Linked DNA regions of Homo sapiens: all the other regions are linked to region 1. The links are contacts of gene promoters, found by promoter capture Hi-C in blood cells and fetal thymus (Javierre and others, 2016). All regions are on one chromosome and are shown on one strand. The core of a region is centred on a gene start or on the middle of the fragment in contact, and the rest is flanking DNA. Distances in the headings are between cores, read along the strand shown. Region 1 holds the start of ITGB7 (integrin subunit beta 7). Region 2 holds the start of PRR13 (proline rich 13). Region 3 has its middle 21 kb from the start of SP7. Region 4 has its middle 4.2 kb from the start of SP7. Region 5 overlaps SPRYD3 (SPRY domain containing 3).

What was found. The method cuts DNA at HindIII sites, captures the fragments that hold promoters and counts their contacts. A CHiCAGO score of 5 or more calls a contact.
Region 2: a contact is called between the fragment with the promoter of PRR13 here and the fragment with the promoter of ITGB7 in region 1, in 1 of 17 cell types (neutrophils). The highest score is 5.3, in neutrophils.
Region 3: a fragment that was not itself captured here is called in contact with the fragment with the promoter of ITGB7 in region 1 in 1 of 17 cell types (neutrophils); the score reaches 8.7 in neutrophils.
Region 4: a fragment that was not itself captured here is called in contact with the fragment with the promoter of ITGB7 in region 1 in 11 of 17 cell types (neutrophils, total B cells, activated CD4 T cells and 8 more); the score reaches 12.7 in neutrophils.
Region 5: a fragment that was not itself captured here is called in contact with the fragment with the promoter of ITGB7 in region 1 in 1 of 17 cell types (erythroblasts); the score reaches 5.8 in erythroblasts.

Annotation. Positions count from the first base shown.
Region 1 is chr12:53,204,808-53,209,633 of GRCh38, reverse strand. It overlaps ITGB7 (integrin subunit beta 7), which reads left to right and starts at 2,383. Exons shown (of 16, transcript NM_000889.3): 1 at 2,383-2,432. RefSeq lists an enhancer at 4,254-4,343. The HindIII fragment of the contact is 16,923 bases long and covers 1-4,826 here.
Region 2 is chr12:53,439,333-53,444,158 of GRCh38, reverse strand. PRR13 (proline rich 13) reads right to left here and starts at 2,425. Exons shown (of 4, transcript NM_018457.4): 1 at 2,367-2,425; 2 at 1,426-1,464; 3 at 386-768. The coding sequence starts at 1,444. RefSeq lists a silencer at 2,428-2,577 and enhancers at 2,868-2,957, 2,688-3,453. The HindIII fragment of the contact is 19,365 bases long and covers 1-4,826 here.
Region 3 is chr12:53,354,873-53,359,698 of GRCh38, reverse strand. No RefSeq gene overlaps it. Among named protein-coding and RNA genes, the nearest start is that of SP7, 21 kb to the right of the region's middle. The HindIII fragment of the contact is 3,499 bases long and covers 164-3,662 here.
Region 4 is chr12:53,338,137-53,342,962 of GRCh38, reverse strand. It overlaps a transcript of SP7 not described here. Among named protein-coding and RNA genes, the nearest start is that of SP7, 4.2 kb to the right of the region's middle. The HindIII fragment of the contact is 269 bases long and covers 2,061-2,329 here.
Region 5 is chr12:53,066,471-53,071,296 of GRCh38, reverse strand. It overlaps SPRYD3 (SPRY domain containing 3), which reads left to right. Exons shown (of 11, transcript NM_032840.3): 7 at 2,993-3,142; 8 at 3,592-3,649; 9 at 4,605-4,724; 10 at 4,811-4,826. Among named protein-coding and RNA genes, the nearest start is that of SPRYD3, 11 kb to the left of the region's middle. The HindIII fragment of the contact is 1,457 bases long and covers 1,953-3,409 here.

The sequences.
Region 1 (4,826 bases), core at 1,134-3,633:
AGGCGTGAGCCACCATGCCTGCCCTGAAGTTTCATTTAGTTCTCATGAGGGCTCCTGGCCCCAGAAGAGAAGAAGCCCGCATCTAAGCTACAGTGTTACTGTTTTACACCAGCCCCTCACCCAGGGAGCCCTCTGGCCTTCTGTCCCCAACCACCCTGCTATCACCTTATACCTTACTCCCCCCACCCTCTCTGTTCCCACTCTTCACCCCATGACCTCCACTCACTGCCACCTGCACTGTTACCTTCTTTCCGAATATCTGTCCTTGCTCCCACACGCCTTCCCTCTGCAACACGCCTTTGCAGTGCCTTTGGCCTCTACTGCTGCACCCTGTACTCTTCCCTTCGCCCTCTGTGACTCCCCTCAAGCCCCTCCTCCGTGTCCTACCTTCCCTGGGACAGTGCCTTGCCTACCTTGTTCCTGGCTCTCTTCATTGGTGACCTGTGGTTATGACAAAAAAGTTGAGGATGTGGGAGTAGGGGAGAGAAGAGTGGAGGGCGGAAAGCAGAAGAAGAAAGTGAAAGAAGCTCTAGAGGAAACCACAGGGCCTGTGGGGAAGGAGGGTCATTGCCGTGGTAACCCCTGGTTGTGGGGGAAGGGTATAGGTCCTGGCTATCCCATAGCCTGAGGCCAGCCAAGCCCACCCAGAGAAAGAGCCCCTCCTCTCCAATTGTCCCCTCCTAGCAGCTACACCTCTGCAATCCATCTGACATTTATTGAGCACCTACTATAAGATGGGCACTTGGCTAGGTGTGGTGGCTCCAGCAGGGAAGCCTTGTAGAGCCAGTCCCTGCCTACAAGGAGTGCTCCTTCTGGTAGGGGAGATCGACCTGTGAACACAGACCTCATGTCTAGTTCCCTCTCAAAGCTCTTAGTGATCTGTATGGGCCAGGAGCAAATCCCATTAATATTTTCCTGCTCTCCCTACGGGCTTCATCCTTGCCTTGGCTTCAGCTGTTGTTCCTGCACTCTCTGCTTCTCCCAGTTCACCTCCTCCACCCCTTTCCCAGGATCCACTACTGTGTTGGCTCCTGGTTCCCCAATCACATGCTCTGAGCCTGGCCCTATGCCTCTCTCTTCCAAGTTTCCAGTTGTGTGGACCTTGAATTTCTCAAAGCCTCTTCACTTCTCACCTCTGCTACTTCTCATCCCTACTAATTCTCTTATCAAGCCCTTACTTAGTATGTGCCAGGTAGTCTTGTAGGCAATTGATATGAATTATCTCTTTTAATTCTCACGACAATCCTGTGAGTCTTGCTGGACAGATGAGAAAACAGCTGCAGGCAGGTTTAAGTAACTCAGCTAAGCTCCTTACTACTAGTAAGTAGTAGAGCCAGGATTTGAACTCTAGCAACTTGGCTCCAGAGCCTATGTAGTCAAGCACACTTATATAATGTATCCTGGGTTTTCAAAATGAACAAGTCTGTAATTTCTGGCCTCTCTACAGTACTTACTGCCCCTATTCCCTCCTATCATGTTCCTTCCTATATAAGTAAATGGAGAGATCATGAATTTTGGAGGCAGGCAGACCTGGATTTAAATCCCAGACCAGCCGAGTGTGCCTGTAATCCCAGCTACTCAGGAGGCCAAAGTGGGAGGATTGCTTGAGTCCAGGAGTTACAGACCAGCCTGGGCAACACAGCAAGACCCTGTCTCAAAAATAAAAAACAGGCTGGGCATGGTGGCCCACACCTGTAATCCCAGCACTTTGGGAGGCCGAGGTGGGCAGATCAATTGAGGTCAAGAGTTTGAGACCAGCCTGGCCAACATGGTGAAACCCCGTCTCTATTAAGAATATAAAACGTTGCTGGGCATGGTAGTGCACCCCTGTAATCCCAGCTATTCGGGAGGCTGAGGCAGGAGAATCGCTTGAACCTGGGAGGCGGAGTTTGCAGTGAGCTGAGATTGTGCCATGGGACAGTGAGCTGAGATTGTGCCTGGGAAACAGAGCAAGACCCTGTCTCAAAAGTTAAATTAAATTAAAATAAAAAAAATAAAATAATAAAAATTTAAAATAAAAATCTTTTTTCTTTTTTTTTTTTAAATCCTAGACTAGCTACTTACTAGCTGTGGGACCTTGGGCAAAATTCTTTATTTCCTGCTTCCAAGCCTCAATCTCTGCATCTGTAAAATTGGGGCTTGGGGGAATATTAACCCCTATCTTATGAGATTGTTGTGAGGGTTAATTGTAATATGTTACGTTCAACACATGACAGGGGTTCAATAAATGGGCTTCTTTCTTCCAGATCTCTGTATTGTCCACTCCCTTGGCTCAGCCCCACCCCTATCTGCACCACCTTCTAGATCAGTCACCCCCACCAACCCCAAATCTTCCCCACCCTGGGGAGTGTCACTTCCTCCTCTGCCGTCTCCCAGATCAGTACACAAAGGCTGCTGCTGCCGCCAGAGGAAGGACTGCTCTGCACGCACCTGTGAGTACCAGGGCACCAGCCCTTCTGCCTCCTCTCCTTACAAGCTCTGGCCCACCTGGTCCCAACCTCTTGGGAAGAGGGCTCTGACCTGGATACCGAGGGTCCTGTCCAGACTTGAGAAAGGCTCTGAACTCCTTTCTGCATTCCTAAGATCCCCTGACCTGGTTCCCTCCTCCAGTTTCACAGTACCCCCACCTCCACCTCTCCAAAAGCCCAATCTCTCCTGCATCAGTTTCCCATGAGTGGGTCTGGAGGCAGGGATGTATATGAGTGCTGTCATCTGAGTGCCTGCCATGTGCCAAGGACTATACCGAAGTAGGGCAGGTATACCGATTATACTGAGGGAGGGTTCTTCCAACATCACCCCCAGCTGCTATCCCTAATGCTCTGCCTTCAGCTCAGACTTCTTCCTAATCGGCACCTTGGTCACAGACTCCACTGTCCTGGGACACTGAGGCCCAGCAGCTCAGTTCCGTCCCCTCCTTGTGACTCCCAGTGGGCAGCAGAGGGTTCTGCTTGATTTGGAAGGTAGGGATGGGTTTGGAAGAGGCTCTGTTTCTCAGCTGCTGAGGGGGGTCACAGGGTGTGTACTGGAGTCAGAATGGAGTCCAGAAAAATGGAAATAACCACTTGGTCCCAGAGAGAGAAGGGAAGACTGCAGAATACCCCTAAGGAAAGAGAAATGGGATTAGGCAGAGCCCACCAGGGCTAGTGGGGAGAGAACACAACTTTTGATGGAGATAGTGCCTGGGTTGGAGGGAGGAAAGGAGAAAGCACAGCAGAGGCCTGGCCCTGCCCTGTCCTGCCCTGCCCCTAGTTCACTGGGTGACCCTGGCCTCATGGAATTTAGGTTTCCATTTGTAAAAAGAGTGGGATGGAGTAGTAGATTCAGCCATTCTATAGTTAGGAACAGAGGGGAAAAGGAAGTAAAATAGCCCTATGAAGAAGTGGAGCAGAGAAAAGCAGCAGAGAGATGCAATAGAAGTTTTGAAATGAAAGGAGCCAGAGAGAGACAGAGAAGCAGACAGAGAAATAGGTGGCAGAACATGTATTCTCAAGGAGGGGAGAAGAGAGGATAATTGGAAAGAAAGGTAGGAAAGGGCTGTCCAGGAAGTCCCAGGGCCCCCTTTAAGGGGAGATGAGTGGGCCTAAGGTCTCTGAAAAACCTATGCGGCAGCCGGGGCTCCACTTGTGAGAGATGAGTCAAAACCCGGCTTTGGGTTGCAGCATCTCCAGCCTCCCTGACCACAGGCATGCAGAGCAAGCAGGGCTGAGGTTACGCTGAGGCTGAGCTGGGACTGGCCTCTCCCCGAGGGGTGGAGGCTCCGTTATATATGGCGCCTGAGGTCACAGGTGGTGGGGAGCAGGACCAGGACATTCAAGGACTCAACACCCCACCCCTTTCCCACACTCTGTGCAGAGTATCTGGACCTGACTCTGGGCCCAGGCTGAAGAAGATGCAAATGGTTTATGACAAGGAGTTAGTTGGCCTTTCTCATACATTGCTGATGGGAATGTGGACCAGTACAAGTCCTGAAGAGTTTATGTTGGCAATACCCACCTATATATATATATTTCTTAGCATGAGAATGTAGATGAAATACACACCAGTATTACAAATGATACCTATCTAGTTATCCTGCACGTCCTCTGCTAGGGATTTATCCTACAGATTCAGTTGCAGACGTGTGAAATGATAAATACATGACATTTGGCTGGGGGTGATGGCTCACGCCTGTAATCACGGCAATTTGGGAGGCCGAGGCAGGTGGGTCGCTTGAGCTCAGGAGTTCTAGACCAGCCTGGGCAACATGGGGAAGCCCCATCTCTGCAAAATAATACAAAAATAATTAGCCAGACATGGTAGCATGCGCCTGTAGTACCAGCTACTCGGGAGGCTGAGGTGGAAGGATCAATTGAGCCGGCAAGGTCAAGGCAGCAGTGAGCCATGATTGCACCAGTACACTACAGCCGGGTGACAGAGCAAGACCCTATCTCTCAAATGAATAAATAAATAAATACATACATTACTTTTCATTTCAGCATTATTTGTCATAGGGAACTAGAAACAATTTAAGGCCAGGCACAGTGGCTCATGCCTGTAATTCCAGCACTTTGGGAGGCCGAGGTGGGTGGATCACTTGAAGTCAGGGGTTCGAGACCAGCCTGGCCAACATAGTGAAACTCTGTCTCTACTAAAAACACAAAAATTAGCTGGGTGTGGTGGCTCACACCTGTAATCCCAGCTACTCAGGAGGATGAGGCACACGACTCACTTGAACCCAGGAGGCAGAGGTTGTACATCACGCCACTGCATTCCAGCCTGGTCGACAGAGTGGGACTCTGCCAAAAAAAAAAAAAAAAAAAAGGTAAAGAAAAAAGAAACAAAGATAG
Region 2 (4,826 bases), core at 1,176-3,675, 230 kb before region 1:
TTATAAGACCTTGCTTTGTCAAAGGAATGACTTTGGTATTTTGACAATGTCAGTGGGCGTGTCCAACTTGCTAGAATATGCACCTGGCGGGAGGGGAGCAAAAGTTCTGGGAGAGTAGGGCAGAAAAGATTTGGCTTTTGATTCTAAAATCCATTCTAAGGCTCACCCTAACTCCCCCCAGATAGGAGAAGCCTGATGTTTATTTTCAAGATAATCAGATTCTTCCCAGTAGCAATCTTTTATAAAAAGGAAGAATCATCTACCAGAGCGACACAATTGTCATCCCTCACGTCCACAGAATGTGAATCCCCCTCACCCAACCCCTGCCTACCTAGTCCCTCTGAGGGGGGACTCCTTCCCTAGCCAGTCTCCAGAGGGTACTGACCTTGCCATGCTTGTGGTACTTGTGGTGCTTTTGGTGCTTGTGCATCTTTTTATGAGCTTTCTTCATTTTCTTCTGCATCTTCTTGTCTACTATCACTGCTGGTCCAACCATGCCAGGAGCCAAGGGATTCACAGGAGGGATTCCAGGGGCAGGCGGTGGGTATGGAGGAGGGTAGGGACCCAACGGTTGGCATCCTGGATACCCTGGCTGTGGCACAGGATGAGGGGGCCCACCTGGGGGGAAAGCTGGATTGCCATGGGGAGCTCCTGGGGGAGGAGGACAGGGGCCTGGGGGAAAGGGTGGATTAATAGGTGGTGGGTGGGCAGGATTGGAACCTCCAGGGCACCCAATATTGGGGGGATATGGATTTGGCCCTGGCTGCCCTGGTGGAAGAAGCAGAGAATAAACATTAGAATTCCCCAGAGTCTCCAACAACAAACAACAAAAAGAAAGAGATTCTTTCTCACTCAATACTTAAAGGGAAACGGAAAGATGACAAAGAAGAATGGAGGGTAGGGGAGACAAACTTGAGTTGGGGAGAAAAGGGGGAATGTCCCTGGAAGGGCTAGGGAGAGGAGGGAGACAGTGAACTCTGAGGAAGACAAAAGCACTGGTCAGTCCAGGCGCGGTGGCTCACGCCTGTAATCCCAGCACTTTGGGAGGCCGAGGTGGACAGATCTCATGAGGCCATGAGTTTGAGACCAGCCTGGCCAAATTGTGAAACCCCCATCTCTACTAAAAATACAAAAAGTAGCCGGGCGTGATAGCATGCGTCTGTAATCTCAGCTACTCCAGAGGCTGAAACAGGAGAATCGCTTGAACCCAGGAGGCGGAGGTTGCAGTGAGCCTGGGCAACAGAGACTCCATCTCAAAAAATAAATAAATTAAATTAAATTAAAAAGCACTGGTCAGCTCTAGACTAAGGACTTTGCTTTTGCGGGTACAGCAGGTCGGGGGTAGGGGAGCTGATACAGAAACTTCCTGTTATAGAGCCCATCAGAAAAAGGGTTAGGGGTGGAACAGAACCCCCAAACACCTACCGGCATTGGGATTCCACATGTTTAGGTGTGTCCTCCAGCCTGAGGAGAAAGAAATGAGGCAAAAAAGATGACGGTCTAGAGGTAGGAAGTGGACTTAGCACCGGAGCCCAGCCCTAACGTCTTCCACCCCACAGTAGGCTCTCCTACCTGGAGAACTACCACAACTTCCACATAAGAAATGTCTCTTTTCTGGCTGGGCGCGGTGGCTCACGCCTGTAATCCCAGCACTTTGGGAGGCCGAGGCGGGTGGATCACGAGGTCAAGAGTTCGAGACCAGCCTGGCCAACATCGTGAAACCCCGTCTCTACTAAAAATCTAAAAATTAGCCGGGCGCGGTGGCGGGCACCTGTAATCCCAGTTATTCGGGAGGCTGAGTCAGGAAAATTGCTTGAACCCGGGAGGCAGAGGTTGCAGTGAGCCGAGACCGCGCCACTGCACTCTAGCCTGGGCGACGGAGCAAGACACCGTCTCAAAAAGAAAAGAAAAGAAAAGAAATGTCTCTTTCCACTTGTTTCTTCGCCCTCAATACCTACTTGGTTCCTAACACAGGAATCTAGTTCCCAGGGCCCCTCCACCCAGGTGGAAGCGTCTAACTCTTCGGAAGTAGGCAGTACCCGCGAGTCTCGGCCCCACCATCACTCATCTCCCTTTCCCTGGAACTGAGTACGGAGGCCTTTAACCACGCACAGAGTAAGAAAGGATCTCAAACAACTTTCTCTCTCCCTGGGGAGGACCCCACCTCAGGCTAAAAAAAGGATACGCCTCGAGGCGAAGTAAGAAGGAAGTTGCCCAAGAACCTCAAATACTTAAATATGTGGACACAGCCCCCTTCCTCCAAAAAAGAAAAAAGGCAAATGAAGATCCTAGCCCCAAGCTGCGAAGAGACTCTTGACCTAGCAAGGGGAAAAGGAAAAACCTATGGAATCCAGATACCCCATCACCTTTCCACCGCCGCCTGGGCTTGCTGCGTTCTCCTTCGCAGTCTCGGCTCTTCCTAGTCACCCAGACCCCGTGCTTCGGCACCCGCCTCTGCTACTGCCTAATTGGTAATTATGTGGCCGCTCGACTGATGATTAGACAACAAACTAATCAATCACTCTGGTCCGACTGAGGAGGAAACGGTTGCTCTAGGGGCGGAGCGGAGCCCTTTACGGCTAGGCCAGTACCGAGAAGCCGGAAATCTCCTGGGGGCGGGGCTAGGCGGAGAGCGCTGGAGGGGGCGGGGCCAGCTGCTGGGCAAAGTCCTAGAGACACCGAGAAGAAACTCTTCCCTTGCTCTCTTACCTCATGGTTCACTGGGTGCAATACCTTGTAAAATGAATACACTATGGTAAGTGTTGTAATACAGATATAGACAGAGTTCTCGGCAAGGGCAGAAGAGCTGCTGAGTCCCAGCCCCAAGCCTCAATGTTCCCGGCTCCGTCTTACACTCGCAAGGGAAGCAAACAAACATTCTTGCGGAAGATACAGAGATTTCATAATCTCTCCCAGGATTCCCTCTCTCAATTGCATAGCTCCGCCATCTGTCAAGTAGCCTAAACCAGAAACCAAGGAGGGCGTCCGTGATCCCTCTGCCTCCTTCACCTCCCTTACCCCAAATTATCAGTTTTGTCTCTCAAATATATCTGGAATCTCTCCACTTCTCTCTGTCTTCCCTGCTCCAAACCTCCCATCATCTGTCGCCTGGATTCATCTCTCCCCTGAATTGCTACAATGGCCTCCCTACAATGGCCTCCCTTTTTTTTTTTTTTTTTTTTTTTGAGACGGAGTCTCGCTCTGTCACGAGGCTGGAGTGCAGTGGTGCGACCTCGGCTCACTGCAACCTCCGCTTCCCGGGTTCAAGCGATAATCCTGCCTCAGCCTCCGAAGTAGCTGGGACTACAGACGCGGCTAATTTTTCTATTTTTTAGTAGAGATGGGATTTCACCATGTTGGCCAGGATGGTCTCGCTCTCTTGACTTCGTGATCTGCCCGCCTCGGCCTCCCAAAGTGCTGGGATTATAGGCGTGAGCCACCGTACCCAGCCTTTAAAAAAAAAAAAAAAATACAAGTGGCCGGGCGCAGTGGCTCACGCCTGTAATCCCAGCACTTTGGGAGGCCGAGGCAGGCGGATCACAAGGTCAGGAGTTCGAGACCAGCCTGGCCAATATGGTAAAACCCCGTTTCTACTAAAAATACAAAAATTAGCCGGGCGTGGTGACATGTGCCTGTAATCCCAGCCACTTGAGAGGCTGAGGCAGGAGAATCGCTTGAACCCGGGAGGTTGCAGTGAACCGAGATCACGCCATAGCACTCCAGCCTGGGCAACAGAGCGAGACTCCATCTCAAAAAAAAAAAGAAAGAAAGAAAGAAAGAAAGTGAGCTAGGCATGGTGGCACATACCTGTAATCCCAGCTAGTGGGAAGGCTGAGGCATGAGAATCGCTTGAACCTGGGAGGGAGAGGGTGCAGTGAGCCAAGATCATGCCACTGCACTCCAGACTAAGCAACAGAGCAGGACTCTGTTTCAAAAAAAAAAAAAAAAAAAAGTGGGATACAAAAAAATTTAAGACAATAAATTTTATGCCAAATATGTCATATTAAACTAAAGCATTTGAAATATTTTAAACTTTTTTTCTTTTAATTTTTATTTTTAGTGCTGGGGTACATGTGCATGATGTGCAGGTTTGTTACATAGTTAAATGTGTGCCATGCTGGTTTGCTGCACAAATTTTGCTGCACCAATAAACCCATCAGCTAGGTATTAAGCCCAGCATGCATTAGCTATTTTTCCTAATATTCTCACTCCCCTGACCCTACCCCCCAACAGGCCCCAGTGTGTGTTGTTCCCCTCCTTGTGTCCATGTGTTCTTACTGTGTAGCTCCCACTTGAGTGAGAACATGTTCCTGCATGAGTTTGCTGAGGTTAATGGCTTCCAGCTTCATCCATGTCCCTATAAAGGACATGATCTCATTCCTTTTTATGGCTACATAGTATTCCATGGTATATATGTACCACAGTTTTTCAGTCTATTGTTGATGGGCATTTGGATTAATTCCATGTCTTTGCTATTGTGAATAGTGCTACAGTGAACATACACATGCATGTATGTTTGTAATAGAATGATTTATATTCCTTTGGGTATACACCCAGTAATGAGATTGCTGGGTCAAATGGTATTTCTGGTTCTAGATCTTTGAGGAATCGCCACATCGTCTTCCACAATGGTTGAACTAATTTACACTCCCACCAACAGTGTAAAAATGTTCCTATTTCTCCACAACCTTGCCAGCATCTGGATTTTGGTTTTGGGTTTTTTTTTTTTTTTGAGACTGAGTCTTGCTCTGTCGCCCAGGCTGAAGTGCAGTGGCAGGATCTCAGCTCACTGCAACCTCTGCCTCCCGGGTTCAAGCGATTCTCCT
Region 3 (4,826 bases), core at 664-3,163, 150 kb before region 1:
TAGTAGAGACAGGGTTTCTCCATGTTGGTCAGGCTGGTCTTGAACTACCAACCTCAAGTGATCAACCGACCTCGGCCTCCCAAAATGCTGGAATTACAGGCGTGAGCCACCGCGCCTGGCTCAGGCTATATTTTTGTATTGCATTGTTTGACTTAAAGAAGCTTGTTATGTGTATTAGATATTAATTATTTGTTTAAAATATGACAAATATTTTCTCCCTATGGATTGTCTTTTTTTAAATTCTACACACGCTGCAGGTGTTGTTGTTGTTTTGTTTTGTTTTTTGACAGGAGTTTTGTTCTTGTTGCCTGCCACCACGCTCAGCTAATTTTTTTTTTTTTTTAATTGAGATGGAGTCCAGGATGGTCTCAATCTCTTTACATCATGATCCACCCGCCTCGGCCTACCAAAGTGCTGGGATTATAGGCATGAGCCACTGTGCCTGGCCCCTAGATTTATTTTTTTCTAGAGTTTTACAGAATGGAGGCTGAAGCAACTCCATCTTGGATGTTAATCTGCTATGTTGACTTCTGAATAACCCCAGCTCCAGGAATGCCTCTAAAATTTTTATTTTATCTACTGATCTTTGGGTAAGAGCATATACTTATCATAAATCCTGCCCTTAGGTCAAGACCACCTTGACCATGAATCTTGCCCTTAGGCAGATTCACAGAACATTCTTGCCTTTCCCATAGAGGTCGACTTCAATTGTCCTACACATTCCTTCCCTATGGTATATAAATTCTGGATCTGGAGATTAATGGCACAGGGATACACTGTCTTGTCTCACCACTGCCAGAGATACAAACAGGGCTTCTGTTTGTAAGTCCCTGTTAAATGTTTCTTTCTTTTTTTGAGACGGTCTTGCTCTGTCGCCCAGGCTGGAGTGCAGTGGTGCAATCATGATTCACTGCAGCCTCAACCTCCCAGACTCAAGTGATCTTCCTGCCTCAGCCTCCCCAGTAGCTGGGACCATAGGCAGGTGACACCACACACAGCTAATTTTTTTTTTTTTTTGACGGAGTTTCGCTCTTGTTGCCCAGGCTGGAGTGCAGTGGCATGATCTTGGCTCACCGCAACCTCCGCCTCCCGGGTTCAAGCGATTCTCCTGCCTCAAGCGGCCGAGTAGCTGGGATTACAGGCATGTACCACCTCACGTGGCTAATTTTATATTTTTAGTAGAGACAGGGTTTCTCCATGTTGGTCAGGCTAGTCTTGAACTCCCGACCTCAGGTAATTCACCCACCTCGGCCTCCCAAAGTGCTGGGATTAAACAGGCGTGAACCACCACGCCCTGCCTTTTTCTGTTTTTTGAGACAGAGTCTCACTTTGTCACTCAGGCTAGAGTACAATGGCTTGATCTCGGCTCGAGGCAGCCTCTGTCTCCCGGGTTCACGTGATTCTCCTGCCTCAGCCACCCATGTAGCTGGGATTACAGGCACCTGCCATCATGCCTGGCTAATTTTTGTATTTTTGTAGAGAATGGGGTCACCATGTTGGCCAGGCTGGTCTTGAACTCCTGACCTCAGGTGATCTGCCTGCCTCAGCCTCCCAAAGTGATGGGATTATAGGCGTGAGCCACTGTGCCTGGCCTACACAACCTCCGTCTCCCAGGTTCCAGCAATTCTCCTGCCTCAACCTGCCGAGTAGCTGAGATTACAGGCATGTGCCACCTCACCCGGCTAATTTTATATTTTTAGTAGAGACAGGGTTTCTCCATCTTGGTCAGGCTGGTCTCCAACTCCTGACCTCAGGTGATCCACCCGCCTCGGCCTCCCAAAGTGCTGGGATTACGTGCGTGAACCACTGTGCCTGGCCAAGATCTCTGTTTTAATGCTGGTCATTAGAGGGGCGAGGTGGCTGATGCCTGTAGTCCCAGCTACTTGGGAGGCTGAGGCAGGAGAATGGCGTGAACCCGGGAGGCGGAGCTTGCAGTGAGCTGAGATTGGGCCACCGTATTCCAGCCTGGGTGACAGAGTGAGACTCCGTCTCAAAAAAATAAAAATAAAGGCCAGGCGCAGTGGCTTACCCTTGTAATCCCAGCACTTTGGGAGGCTGAGGCGGGCGGATCACGAGGTCAGGAGATCGAGACCATGGTGAAACCCCTTCTCTACTAAAAATACAAAAATAAAAATTAAATTAAATTAAAAATAAAATAAAGTGTTTCAGTTGGTTGTTGGGGCTCATGCCTGTAATCCCAGCACTTTGGGAGGCTGAGGGGGGCCGATCATGAGGTCAAGAGATTGAGACCATCCTGGCTAACATGGTGAAACCTTGTCTCTACTAAAAATACAAAAATCAGCTGGGCGTGGTGGCACATGCTGCCTATAGTCCCAGCTACTCGAGAGGCTGAGGTAGGAGAATAACTTGAACCCGGGAGGTGGAGGTTGCAGTGAGCTGAGATCGCGCCACTGCACTCCAGCCTTGTGACAGAGCAAGACTTGACTCCGTCTCAAAAAAAAAAGTTTCATCCAGCAAAAAAAAGATTTATACATGTTTCTACAGGTATATCTAGTTTATCACTTCATTTATTTTATTTGTTTGTTTGTTTTTGTTTTTGTTTTTTGTTTTTTGTTTTTTTGAGACGGCATCTTGCTCTTCTCGCCCAGGCTGGAGTGTAATGGCACGATCTCGGCTCATTGCAACCTCCACCTCCCAGGTTCAAGCGATTCTCCTGTCTCAGCCTCCCAAGTAGCTGGGATTACAGGCACCCATCACCACACCCGGCTGATTTTTGTATTTTTAGTAGAGATGGGGTTTCGCCATGTTGGCCAGGCTGGTCTCAAACTCCTGACCTCAGGTGATCTGCCTCCCTCAGCCTCCCAAAGTGCTGGGATTACAGTCATGAGCCACTGCGCCCGGCCCATTTATTTTATTTTTTATCGTAGAGATGGGGTCCTGCTATGTTGAGCAGGCTGGTCTCTAACTACTGGCTTCAAGCAATCCTCCTGCCTCAGCCTCCCAAAGTGCTGGAATGCTAGAATTGCAGGTGTGAGCCACTGCACATGGCCTAGTTTATCACTTCTAACTTATGCATAGTATTCCCTGCAAGATGGAGAACTAGCTTCTTTTTAACTTTTTTATTATTATTATTACTTTTTGAGACATAGTCTTACTCTGTTGCCCAGGCTGGAGTTCAGTGGCACCGTGTTGGCTCACTGCAACCTCCATCTCCTGGGTTCAAGCAGTTCTCCTGCCTCAGCTTCCCAAGTAGCTGGGATTACAGGCACCCACCACCAAGCCCGGCTAGTTTTTATATTTTTAGTAGAGATGGTGTTTCACCATGTTGGCCAGGCTGGTCTCAAACTCCTGTCCTCAGGTGATCCACCCACCTCAGCCTCCGAAAGTGCTGAGATTACTGGTGTGAAGCCACCACGCCTGGCCAAGAACTAGCTTCTTGAACCAGAAAGCTGTCATGAATATTCTCAAACATGTTACCTTATAGTTCTGTGTAATACTTTCTCATGGTGAAGATTCTAATATAAAAGCCTGGTCATTTCACCTCCTTACTCCACATCTTTCAATAACTCTTCATTTCTTTTTCTTCTTTTAAGTTTCTGTGGGCTTTCTGAGAACAAAGATTAGACCTTGAGTGCAGTGGTAGGACGGCAGCTCACTGCAAACTGTCTCCCCAAGCTCAGGTGACTCTCCCACCTCAAGCTTCCCAAGTAGCTGGGACTACAGGTGGATGCCATCACGCCTGGCTAATTTTGTGTGTCTGTGTGTATTTTTACCTGAGGTGTGGTTTCACAAAGCCTTCCAGAGGCCAAGGCTGGTCTGGAACTCCTGGACTCAAGCAATCCACCCGCCTCAGCCTCCCAAAGTGCTGGGATTACAGGCATGAGTCACTGTGCCCAGCCTCTTTTTTTCTTCTTTCTTTTTTCTTAAGACAGGGTCTCATTGGGCGCAGTGATTCACGCCTGTAATCCCAGCACTTTGGGCGGCTGAGGTGGGTGGACCACCTGGGTTTAGGAGTTTAAGACTAGCCTGGGCAACATGGCGAAACCCAGTCTCTACCAAAAATACAAAAAAATTAGCCGGGTGTTGTGGTGCTCGCCTGTGATCTCAGCTACTCAGGAGGCTGAGGTAGGAGGACTGTTTGAGCCTGGGAGGCAGAGGTTGCAGTGAGTCAAGATTACGCCATTGTACTCCACCCTCAGTGACAGAATGAGACCCCATCTCAAAAAAAAAAAAAAAAAAAAGGTCTCATCATGTAGCTGATCTGGAACTGGGCTCAAACTGGACTCCAGCGACCCTCCTGTGGGACTATAGGCATGTGCCAGTACATCCAGCCCTTCTTTTCTTTTGTTTCTTCTTTTGTTTTTTCTTTTCTTTTATTTTCCTTCCTTTCTCCCTCCCTCCCCACTGCCTTCCTTCCTGCCTTCCTCCCTCCCTCGCTTCCTTCCATCCATCTTGCTCTGTCACCCAGGCTGGAGTGCAATGACATTATCATAGATCACTGCATGTTTGAACTCCTGGGCCCAAGGTCTCCCCCTGCCTCTGCCTCCAGAGTAGCTGGGACTATAGGTGTGCACCACTGTGCTTAGCTCCCGGCTCTTTATTTATCTTCATTAACTCTTTTTTTTTCTTTTTGAGACGGAGTTTTTGCTCTTGTTGCCCAGGCTGGAGTGCAGTGCCGCGATCTCGGCTCACTGCAACCTCCGCCTCCTGGGTTCAAGCGATTCTCCTGCCTCAGCCTCCCGAGTAGCTGGGATTACAGGCACGTGCCACCATGCCCAGCTAATTTTTTCTATGTTTTTAGTAGAAACGGGGGTTTCATCTTGTTGGCCAGGCTGGTCTTAAACTCCTGACCTCAGGTGATCCAC
Region 4 (4,826 bases), core at 946-3,445, 130 kb before region 1:
CTTAGTCATGCTGTCTTCCAGGAAGCCTTCCTTAATTCCCCCCCAACACTGGCTTAGATTTACTCTTTTGTCTCCTATAACATCCAGTACTTATTTTTTATTTTATTTTATTTTTATTATTTATTATTTATTTATTTATTTATTTTTTGAGACGGAGTCTCTCTGTGTCACCTAGGCTGGGATGCAGTGGCACAATCTTGGCTCACTGCAACCCCCGCCTCCCAGGTTCAAGCAATTCTCTGCCTCAGCCTCCCAAGTAGCTGGGATTACAGGCATCTGCCACCACATCTGGCTAATTTTTTTGTATTTTTAGTAGAGATGGGGTTTCACCATCTTGGCCAGGCTAGTCTCGAACTCCTGACCTTATGATCTACCCACCTTGGCCTCCTACAGTGTTGGAATTACAGGCGTGAGCCACCACGCCTGGCCCTCCAGTACTTATTCTATCGAGATACTTCCTACTCTTTTGTATTAGTTGCTGGTTAGTTTGTGAGGTGAAGGGATGAGTCTGTCTTGCTTGTTATTGCATGCCTAAGTCTAGCCCAGTGTGCTTAGCACAAAGTAGGTGCTTTCTGAACATTTGTTGAATGAAAGAATGTTCTTTAAGTTCATTCCACATTTCAAAAATCTGGGCTCCGAGGAAGAATGCAGCAGGCCAGAGAAAGCGGGGAGACGTGTGTATTTAGGAATTTTTTTTTTTTTAAATGGAGTCTCGCTTGTCTTCCAGGCTGGAGTGCAGTGGCACAATCTCGGCTCACTGCAATCTCTGCCTTCTGGGTTCAAGTGATTCTCCTACCTCAGCCTCCAGAGTAGCTGGGATTACAGGCACGCGCCACCACACCCAGCTAATTTTTGTATTTTTAGTAGAGACAGGGTTTGTTTGTTTGTTTTTTGTTTTTTTTTTTGAGACGGAGTCTCGCTCTGTCGCCCAGGCTGGGGTGCAGTGGCGCGATCTCGGCTCACTGCAAGCTCCACCTCCCGGTCACGCCATTCTTCTGCCTCAGCCTACCAAGTAGCTGGGACTACAGGCGCCCGCCACCACGCCCGGCTAATTTTTTGTATTTTTAGTAGAGACAGGGTTTCACCATGTTAGCCAGGATGGTCTCGATCTCCTGACCTCGTGATCCGCCCTCCTCAGCCTCTCAAAGTGCTGGGATTACAGGCATGAGCCACCTCGGCCAGCCTGAGACAGGGTTTTGCCATGTTGGCCACGCTAGTCTCAAACTTCTGACCTCAGGTGATCCACCCACCTCGGCCTCCCAAAGTGCTGGGATTACAGGTGTGAGCCACCTCACCAGGCCTGTATTTAGGATTTTGAAGGACCATTCCCTTGAGTTGCTCAGCCTCACTCCTAGGGATGATGTGATCAGAACTCCATCACCCCAACTTCTTCTTATGAAAGACACTAGTATATTTCATGGATCAGATTCTAGGGTATCGTTTTTACAAAGGGTCATTTTCTAGAGATGACCAGGTTCTTACTTAATTCAATGTTGTCCCATTTTAGACACGGGCATCCAGGACAGGTCCCCTTGTTTCAGAATCAGACCCCAGTCTTCCTCTTCCTTTCATTTTTCACTTTGTCCCCTGCCATCCAGATTCCTTCCTGCTCCTTCCATGGCACTTCTGTTTCTGATTCTGATCTGCCTCTCCTAAAGCTGCTGAATTATATCAGGGCTCAATGTCAATGAAGGAACCCAAGGCTCAGGGAAGAGGGGAGCCAGAGTCAGTCCCAGAGGTCCTGCCTTGCAGCCCTGGTGCTGGAAGAGGGGATGGGGAGACCTAGCAGAGAGGGAGGGAAGTTGTAGTCTGTCTGTACCTGTAAATTTGTGTACATATTTGTTGGGGTGAGGAACTCCTTTTCCAAGCTGTCCTATACAAAGGTTGCCAGCCTCTTAAAAGCTTCCTTTCTACCCTGTGTCCTCAGCTTTGCCTCCTAAAATTGGATCCTCTTCCCCAAGTACCCTGAGCCTAGTGTCAGAAATGCTGGGTCAAGGCACTCGGCAGTCTCTAAATCCTGAGGCCATGAATGGATGTTCCTTCAACCCAAGGAGCAAGCTTTCCTGGTCATCAGCCCCATTGCTCTTAGAGGACCCAACAGACTAGTAGCTGATCCTCAGGGTCTCTCATCTGTATGCCCACCATTTGTTGTTTCCTCTTTGTCTCTCCTGTGTCTTTCTGTTTCCCTGTCTCTGCGTGCCTTCTTCTTTCCTGTCCCCTCTATGTTCTCTGTCGCTGGAGTATCCACTGGAGACAAGGGCTGGGCTGGGTGCATGGGCGGGTAGTGGCCAGACCAGGGGCCCGGGACATGAGCGCAACTTTCCAAGCTTCTCTTCCAGGCCCCTGTGGTTGGGGAGCTCCACAGAGGGAGAGATGAGTCAGCGGGGCCGCAGAGCAGCGGGGGCCTGGGTGGGGGTAGGGATGCTGGGGTTCCCCAGGACCAGGGAGTTCGCTGGGGCCATCTGGGTCTCTGAACTCTGGTGTGTGTGTGGAGTATTGGATCAAAAGTACCTAAAGGTACACTGGAACTTCTTATACTAGTAGGAGTTGGAGGCAGCAATTTGCAGGACTGGCAGTGGCCTCCATATCACCCTTATCTCCAGATCCTTATAGGGAGAGGGGTTCCCAAATGCCCTTTAGGAGACCACAGAGATCTCCAGGGCTGTAAAGTTGTAATGGTAGCCCTGGGTATATGTATGTGACATTTGCCACATGTGTAGATACGTGTGTTGATGGGAGTCTGTGAGTCCATGTGGGGAGTATTCTAGGTGGCTGTGAGTCTGTATGCATGTATATATATACTGGTGTGTGCATTTTTATGATTGGGGGTTAGGGTGTCTTGGGGTAAGCATTATCTGTATATGTATATATCAGTGTGTGTCAATATGGATGCCTGCATAGTACAAATGTGTATGAATTATGTGTCACCTTGTGTGTGTGCAAGTATGCAGATCTGAATGTGTCTGTCATCAGGTATGTATTAGGGCATGTGTCAGTCTCTATTTCAGGGGCTCTGCTCACTATTCTCTGGTGATTCTCCCTAGGGTAGTCAAACCTTCTATAACAGCAACAATGAAGAGTTGGGAGTCCCTTTGGATGAGGCTCTTAGAGACAGCCCAGCCTAGAAAGGTGGTAGAGGGTGATGGTGTGGACGATGGAAGTAGCATCCCTTGGGAATAGGGGGTACAGGTCTCCCACTCTCCCCAGTTTTTTTTTTCTTTCTTTTTTTTTTTTTTTGAGATGGAGTTTTGTTCTTGTTGCCCAGGCTGGAGTGCAATGGCATGATCTCAGCTCACTGCAATCTCCACCTCCTGGGTTCAAGTGATTCTACTGCCTCAGCCTCCCAAGTAGCTGGGATTACAGGCACCCGTCACCACGCTCAGCTGATTTTTGTATTTTTAGTAGAGACGGGGTTTCACCATGTTGGCCAGGCTGTCTCAAACTCCTGACCTCAGGTGATCCACCCACCTTGGCCTCCCAAAGCGCTGGGATTACCGGCGTGAGCCACTGCACCCGGCCCCACTCTCCCCAGTTTTCATTCTGTTTTCACCCCACTGATCTTTCCAAAAAGATCCAAAATCATTTGGAGAACTGAGGCAGGTGCCAGATTCAACCCCCTCTAACCTACAAAGCCCACCCTGATTCTCCTAGGGGAGGGTGGGAAGGGAATGGTTCCTGTGGTTCAGCCCAGTCCTGGCATTGGGATATCAGAAAGGCATCATCCCACCCCTTCCGTCTGGGGCATCCATCCCTTGGAGCTCAGCGTCTGGGTGGCCATGGGCGGAGGCTGAGGGGCCCCCAGGGTGGTGGGGGGTGGTGGATAGAAACCAGATGCCTAGGGGGTTTATACTGGAAGGACCAGAGCCGCAGCCTCTACCCGCCCCTGCCACATGGCGCCTCTCCCTGGTCTGCCCCACCCCCTGGGAGGCTGGGCTGAGGGAGGCCTGAGAGGGTGGAGGTAGGTCCTTGGTTAGGGCTTCCAATTGCTGCCCCCAGCCCCTCAGGGCACTGGGAAGGAGACTGGGGAGCTGGACCCAGGAACACCAGAGCCTCAGCTGGGCTGCAGGACTATTTTTAAAAAGGACATGGAGAAGTCAGAACCCAGGGGTTCCTGAGGGCAGCAGCTGGGGGATTCAGGCAGCCCCTCTGCCTATCTTTGGCGCTGATCTCTGGTGGGGAAGAGGCTCTGTGTCCAGAGGGTGTCCTATGTTGACACATCGGGGCACTGGCTCACATCTTCCTGGGACTCTGCTCCTCCTTTTTATTTCTCCGAGAATAGTAGGGTTCGAATAGAGAATAGTAGGGTTTGAATACGTCTGCCCCTTCCCGGGTAGGGTTAGGGATTAAAGCCCACACGGGGAGTGAGAAGGTGACCCTTCCTTCCAACTCCTCTCCCCAGCCCTGTCTGTCCATTTATCTTTCCATCCTTCCTCCTTTTCCCCTTCAGTTTCTTCCTTTCTTCTCTCATCTAATCTGAGTCCCAACCCCCTCCTCACCTGCTATCTCTTCTTTAGAATCTAGACTTTCTCCTCCTCTGCCTCAGTTTCCTGCCTGATCTAACTGGGTCGGGCTTTTCTGCTGGTGATACAGGAATTTCTCTAAAGCTTCTCTTTCTCAACTTCTGAGTTCGGGGCCCCGGAAAGCCATCTGGCACCTCAGTCTCAGACTCCCCCCCAACAAGGGGGAGACCGCGAGGTCACAGGGACACCCCACCACGGGCACTTCCTCTCAGGCAGACGGGTGGGGTGGCCCGTGTAATCAGCGGACACAATTATGTGCTATTTATACTCCTTCCCCGCCCCCCCACCTGCCTGGCAACACAACCC
Region 5 (4,826 bases), core at 1,432-3,931, 140 kb after region 1:
TGACAGGGGCAACAGCTTTGGTACACACAGGGTGGTGAATGAGGCCCCGCCCTCCCAGGGGTCCTCCCCAGACCCAGCCCAGAGGGAGGCTGTGCTGGAGCCTGAGCTGGCCAGGAGAGTGTGTACTTGGTTCCTGTTTCAGTTGCTTCTGGGCCCTCAGGGCACTGAGCCCTTCCTTGCTCCTGTCAAGAGGGATTAGGGTCTCTGCTGGCAAGGGGAGGAGGGCGGATACCGGCAGGGGAGAAGAGGCTGGGAAGGTGCTACTGGTAGAGGGAGGGTGTGGAGTGCACGAGACTGTCCACACTCTGGTCTGCAGCCGCCACTCTGTGGCACTGAGTCATGTCTTTGGCTTCTTGGGGCTTTGGTGGTATGTGTGTATTAGGGGGAGACCCAAAGAAAGGGCTCCATCTTCCCCCACCAAAAATGCAGAGAAACATTTCTGTTGATTGGACATTGTTTGAGAGGAGACACATAGGGTAGAGTTGTCTGGGGAGTGGCCATCGTCCTGGTTGGCCTAAGGGACCATTGTAGTTGGAAGTAAGGGCTAAGATGAAAGATCATTTCCTTCTTTGTGATCGGCAATTCCAACGTAACCCCATTTACACTGATTTAGGGAGAGGCAGCAATGTGTATTGGTCACTTCATTAAGTCTTCCCACTTGTTTTTGGAAATTCAGGTAATCTTATCCCAGTTTACTGTTGAAGAAACCAAGGCTTAAGGAGGTGAATGTCATTTGCCTGAGGTTAGCGGCTGTTAAGTAATAGGAGTTAGGATTTGAACCCAGGTCTGTTGGATTCTGAGGTACAGGTTGAGGGACCAGCATCAAGATCCTAACAGTTCAGACTCTAAGGGTTAACCTTCACTCCTCCTCTAGGTTCCTAACAGCTATAGACCAAGGAGGCAGAGGAATGTACTCAAGAAAGAATCTGTCAGGGAGGCCAAATATTCCCCCCACTTCCACCCCTCTGAGTTCTCTGGGAAGGCTCAGGAGGGGTCGGGGGAGCTTTGTCCAGGAGCAGGAGAGTGGATCAGGAGGTTTATGATGGCTTTCACTGTGAGGGCTGGGCGGTCCCCTCTGAAGAGGGCACGCTGTACAAGCCTCACCTATACACTGTACAAGTACCTAGTCGTCCAGGACATCAGCATTCTGTCCGAAGTGCTCTGTGGTTGGCAGGTAGAGAGTGGGTTTTAAAGACCCATGTTGGGGTAGTCCGTCCTGGCTTTTAGCGTGAGAAAGCACCTCCACCCTATCCAGAGACAGAAATGCAGCAGCTACCCTCTTCTGAGCTGAGGCAAAGGGAGGGGCTGGCCGGGTATTTCCCAAGGATCAGGGTCTGGATCGGCTGTCTTTTGGCTCTGGAAATGGAGAACACTGTGTTTCCTACACCGAGGCCAGTTGGATAGAATGGGTCAAAGGCAGCTGTGGGGTCCCCCACCCAGTTCTGCAATGCTGGGTGGAGAGGGTGGGCTGGGGGCTGCTCTGCCTGGGTGGAGTCTAAACTAGTTAATGTGGATCAAGCCACACCCCTCCTGGCTTCCCGGGGAGAGAGGCAGAGGAGGAACCCAGGCTGAGCAGAGAATACACCATGAACAGAAGTCAAACAGTGTGGCCTTGGGGATGGGCTTAGGTGGTCTCCCGTGCATGCTGCTTTCCCCCTCATCCATCCCCAGTTATCTTTGGAGAGGAGGGAAGGATGGACTTGAGGTGGCGGGGCTGAGATCCAGGGCTGAGAAAGGCACCAAGCCCCTCTAGTCCTACTCTCAGAAGGGGTTAGTAGCACCCCGCTCTAAGCACCTGAGCTAAGCAGCGGCCGTCTGAGGCTGGGAGTGGGGATGCGGGAGCAGCCTCTGCTGGAGACACGCACAGGCTTCTGTGCTGGTGCAGGTGGGCATAATTCCTTTCCTGTTCAGGCAGGAATCTGTGAGAGGTGAGAGGCCGGCGTCCCAAAGCTTGCCAGGGAGACGTGGAGGAGGTCCCTAGGCAACATGTTTCCTTCAGGGCTGCAGGGGTGGGAGGGTAGAAGAAAGTCGTGAGGGGCAGTTGGGCTAATTAAAAGGAGATTAAGGAATCCCAGGTGAGGCCGAAGGTGGGGGAAAGAGGGGATGGGGTTGAGTCATCACCCCACTATTACCATGACAACTGACAAATAAATCCTCCCAGATTGGGGGTTGCCGCCCCGTCGTGCCCAGGCAGGACCATTGTGGGACTGAAGAGCCCCAAGAACCCATCAGTCATCTCCCCTATCCTACCTCCACGCCCCTACTCCAACTTGAATGAGCAATGAGGGGCTGGGAACAGCTAAGCCTGCCTCTGTCTTCATTTTGACCTCTCCTCTCCCTCACATGAAATGAGGGAGTAGAGCTGGGCGTTCTGGGTCCCTGGGCTCCCCTCAGCACCTCCCTGACCCAGCTAAGAACAGCTGTGTTCACAGCCAAGTAAAACAAGGACCTTGAGAAATTATGTCAGGCCCATCCCAGGCAGAATTGGCTTCTGAACTCACCCGCTTCCCCTGAATATCTGGGGTTGGCACCTAACTTCTGCATCCTCCCTGTCCCCATTAGGCCCCCTGAGAAAGTCATCAAGTTTCCTCTCAGCTAGTCTTGCTTCTCCTTTCCCCTGTGTTTGGGACCCTGGGCGGACCTTTCCCAGCAGGAAAGGCTGCAGGGTTTTTCAGCGGGCGAGGATGCATCTAGAGCCCCCTGGTGTGCCGCTCCCCTAGCTGTGCTGCTTTCCCCGGCCTCCCAGAAAGTGTGTGGGGGAAGACAGCGTGGGCATTCAGCAAGGGGTGCTCTCCCCTTTGCCTCCCACCCCATCCTGCTCTTCCATGCTGGCCTAGAACTTTGGGGCCACATTGTATCTCTAGGATTCTTTCCCTTTCAGCCAGGAGTTTTTGTCAGACCTGGGAAAGTGGGACCCAGACTGCCTTGGGCCCAGGTTTCCAGGGTGGGTGTCAGCCTGTCCCCTGACCCCCATCTGGCTCTTCCCCCACAGCTGCTGGAGTACTTAGGGAAGGGCAAAAGCATCGTGGATGTGGGGCTGGCCCAGGCCCGGCACCCACTCAGCACCCGCAGCCACTACTTCGAGGTGGAGATCGTGGACCCTGGAGAGAAATGCTACATCGCCCTGGGGCTGGCACGGAAGGTGGGCACAAAGGCTGAGCTTTTTTGCTCATGGAGCTGCTCAGGTCTGGGGCTGTTGGGGCAGCACCAGGAAGCTCTTAGGAGAAACCAGGGGAGCCCAGGCTTTGGAGGGAGGGTGCTAAGCTGAGATGGAACACAGTTGTATGTGTCTGCTGTGTAAGAGTACACACCCCATGTGACCAAGGACCTGAGACAGGTCATGACTGCACCACACACTAAGGCCTGGGGGGAGGGGGTGGGACATGCCATGGCTCTGGCCTTAAAAGCTTAACTAACACTTTCCTCACCCTCCCTGGTTCCCCTGAAGCCCCAGTGCCTGCAGGGTATGAGTGTGCAGGGTTGGCACTCTCTGGGCTGTGGTCTGTCCCAGAGGTTCAGATGCTACTCGCCACTCTCTCCTGTCTTGTTTATGCATGGGACCATAGATTTTCTTTTCTCTTCTTGGTGCAGGACTATCCCAAGAACAGGCACCCTGGCTGGAGCAGAGGGTCTGTGGCTTATCATGCAGGTGAATAGCGGGCTGCCTGGGAAAGGTGGGATGGTGGGAGATGTGGAGGCATAGGGACATCCACTTTCCCCTCTCCTGGCCCCTCACAAATGGCCTTGCTGTTTGCCCTGCTGCTGGCTGACCTCCCCTTCCCAAATCGCTAGTGCTTCCTCCTCATCTGTGTTTTCCTCCCAGCTCTGGAAACCAGGGGAGCAGGACAGGAGAGGGAGATCTGGGCCCAGATGGGACATTCCAGGCCTCTGAGCTGGTCCCCCCGTGCCCTTCCTGCAGACCCTCATTTCCTCATTTTCTTTTTTCTTTTGCTGCTTGGTTTCCTTGGCTTTCTTTAGAAGAAAACTGAGCCTAGAGTTCCTCGACCCACCTCCCCCTGCCTGCCCTCCCTGGGTGTTCATTCCTTCCCTAGGGCCCCCTCCTCTGACTCATTTCCTAAGGGTTCTCCCTTACCCTTACCTTGAGCAGATGGATACTACGTCTCTTTATTTTATTTGGTGCCCCCTTCCCATATATCTCGCTCCAATTTTTTTTTTTTTTTTTTTTTGAGATGGAGTCTCACTCTGTCACCTAGACTGGAGTGCAGTGGCATGATCTTGGCTCACTGCAACCTCTGCCTCCCAGGCTCAAGTGATCCTCCCACCTCAGCCTCCTGAGTAGCTGGGACTACAGACGGGCGCCACCACGCCCAGCTAATTTTTGTATTTTTAGTAGAGATGTTTCGCCATGCTGGCCATGCTGGTCTCAAACTCCTGACTTCAGGTGATCCACCCTCCTTGGCCTCCCAAAGTCCTGGGATTCCAGGCGTGAGCCACCGCGCCCGGCCTCTCTCTCCATCTTTGTTTCCGCCCTGACCCTTCCCTTCCTCTGAGGGGTGGGAAGTGTTCAGCTTCATGAGCCACTCTGGGGGTGTGGTGTCAGCCCTCCTTCCTCAAGTGTTTGTCCTTTCCCCTCCCTCCAACAGACGATGGGAAGATCTTCCATGGCAGTGGTGTGGGGGACCCCTTTGGGCCACGCTGTTACAAAGGGGACATCATGGGCTGTGGAATCATGTTCCCCCGGGACTACATTTTGGACAGTGAGGGTGAGTGGGGTAGGGGTGGCCAGCCAGGCTGCTTGGGGCCGAGGGTGGAAAGGCACCACAGGAGCTCAGGTTTCCTGGTCTCCTAGGGGACAGTGATGACAG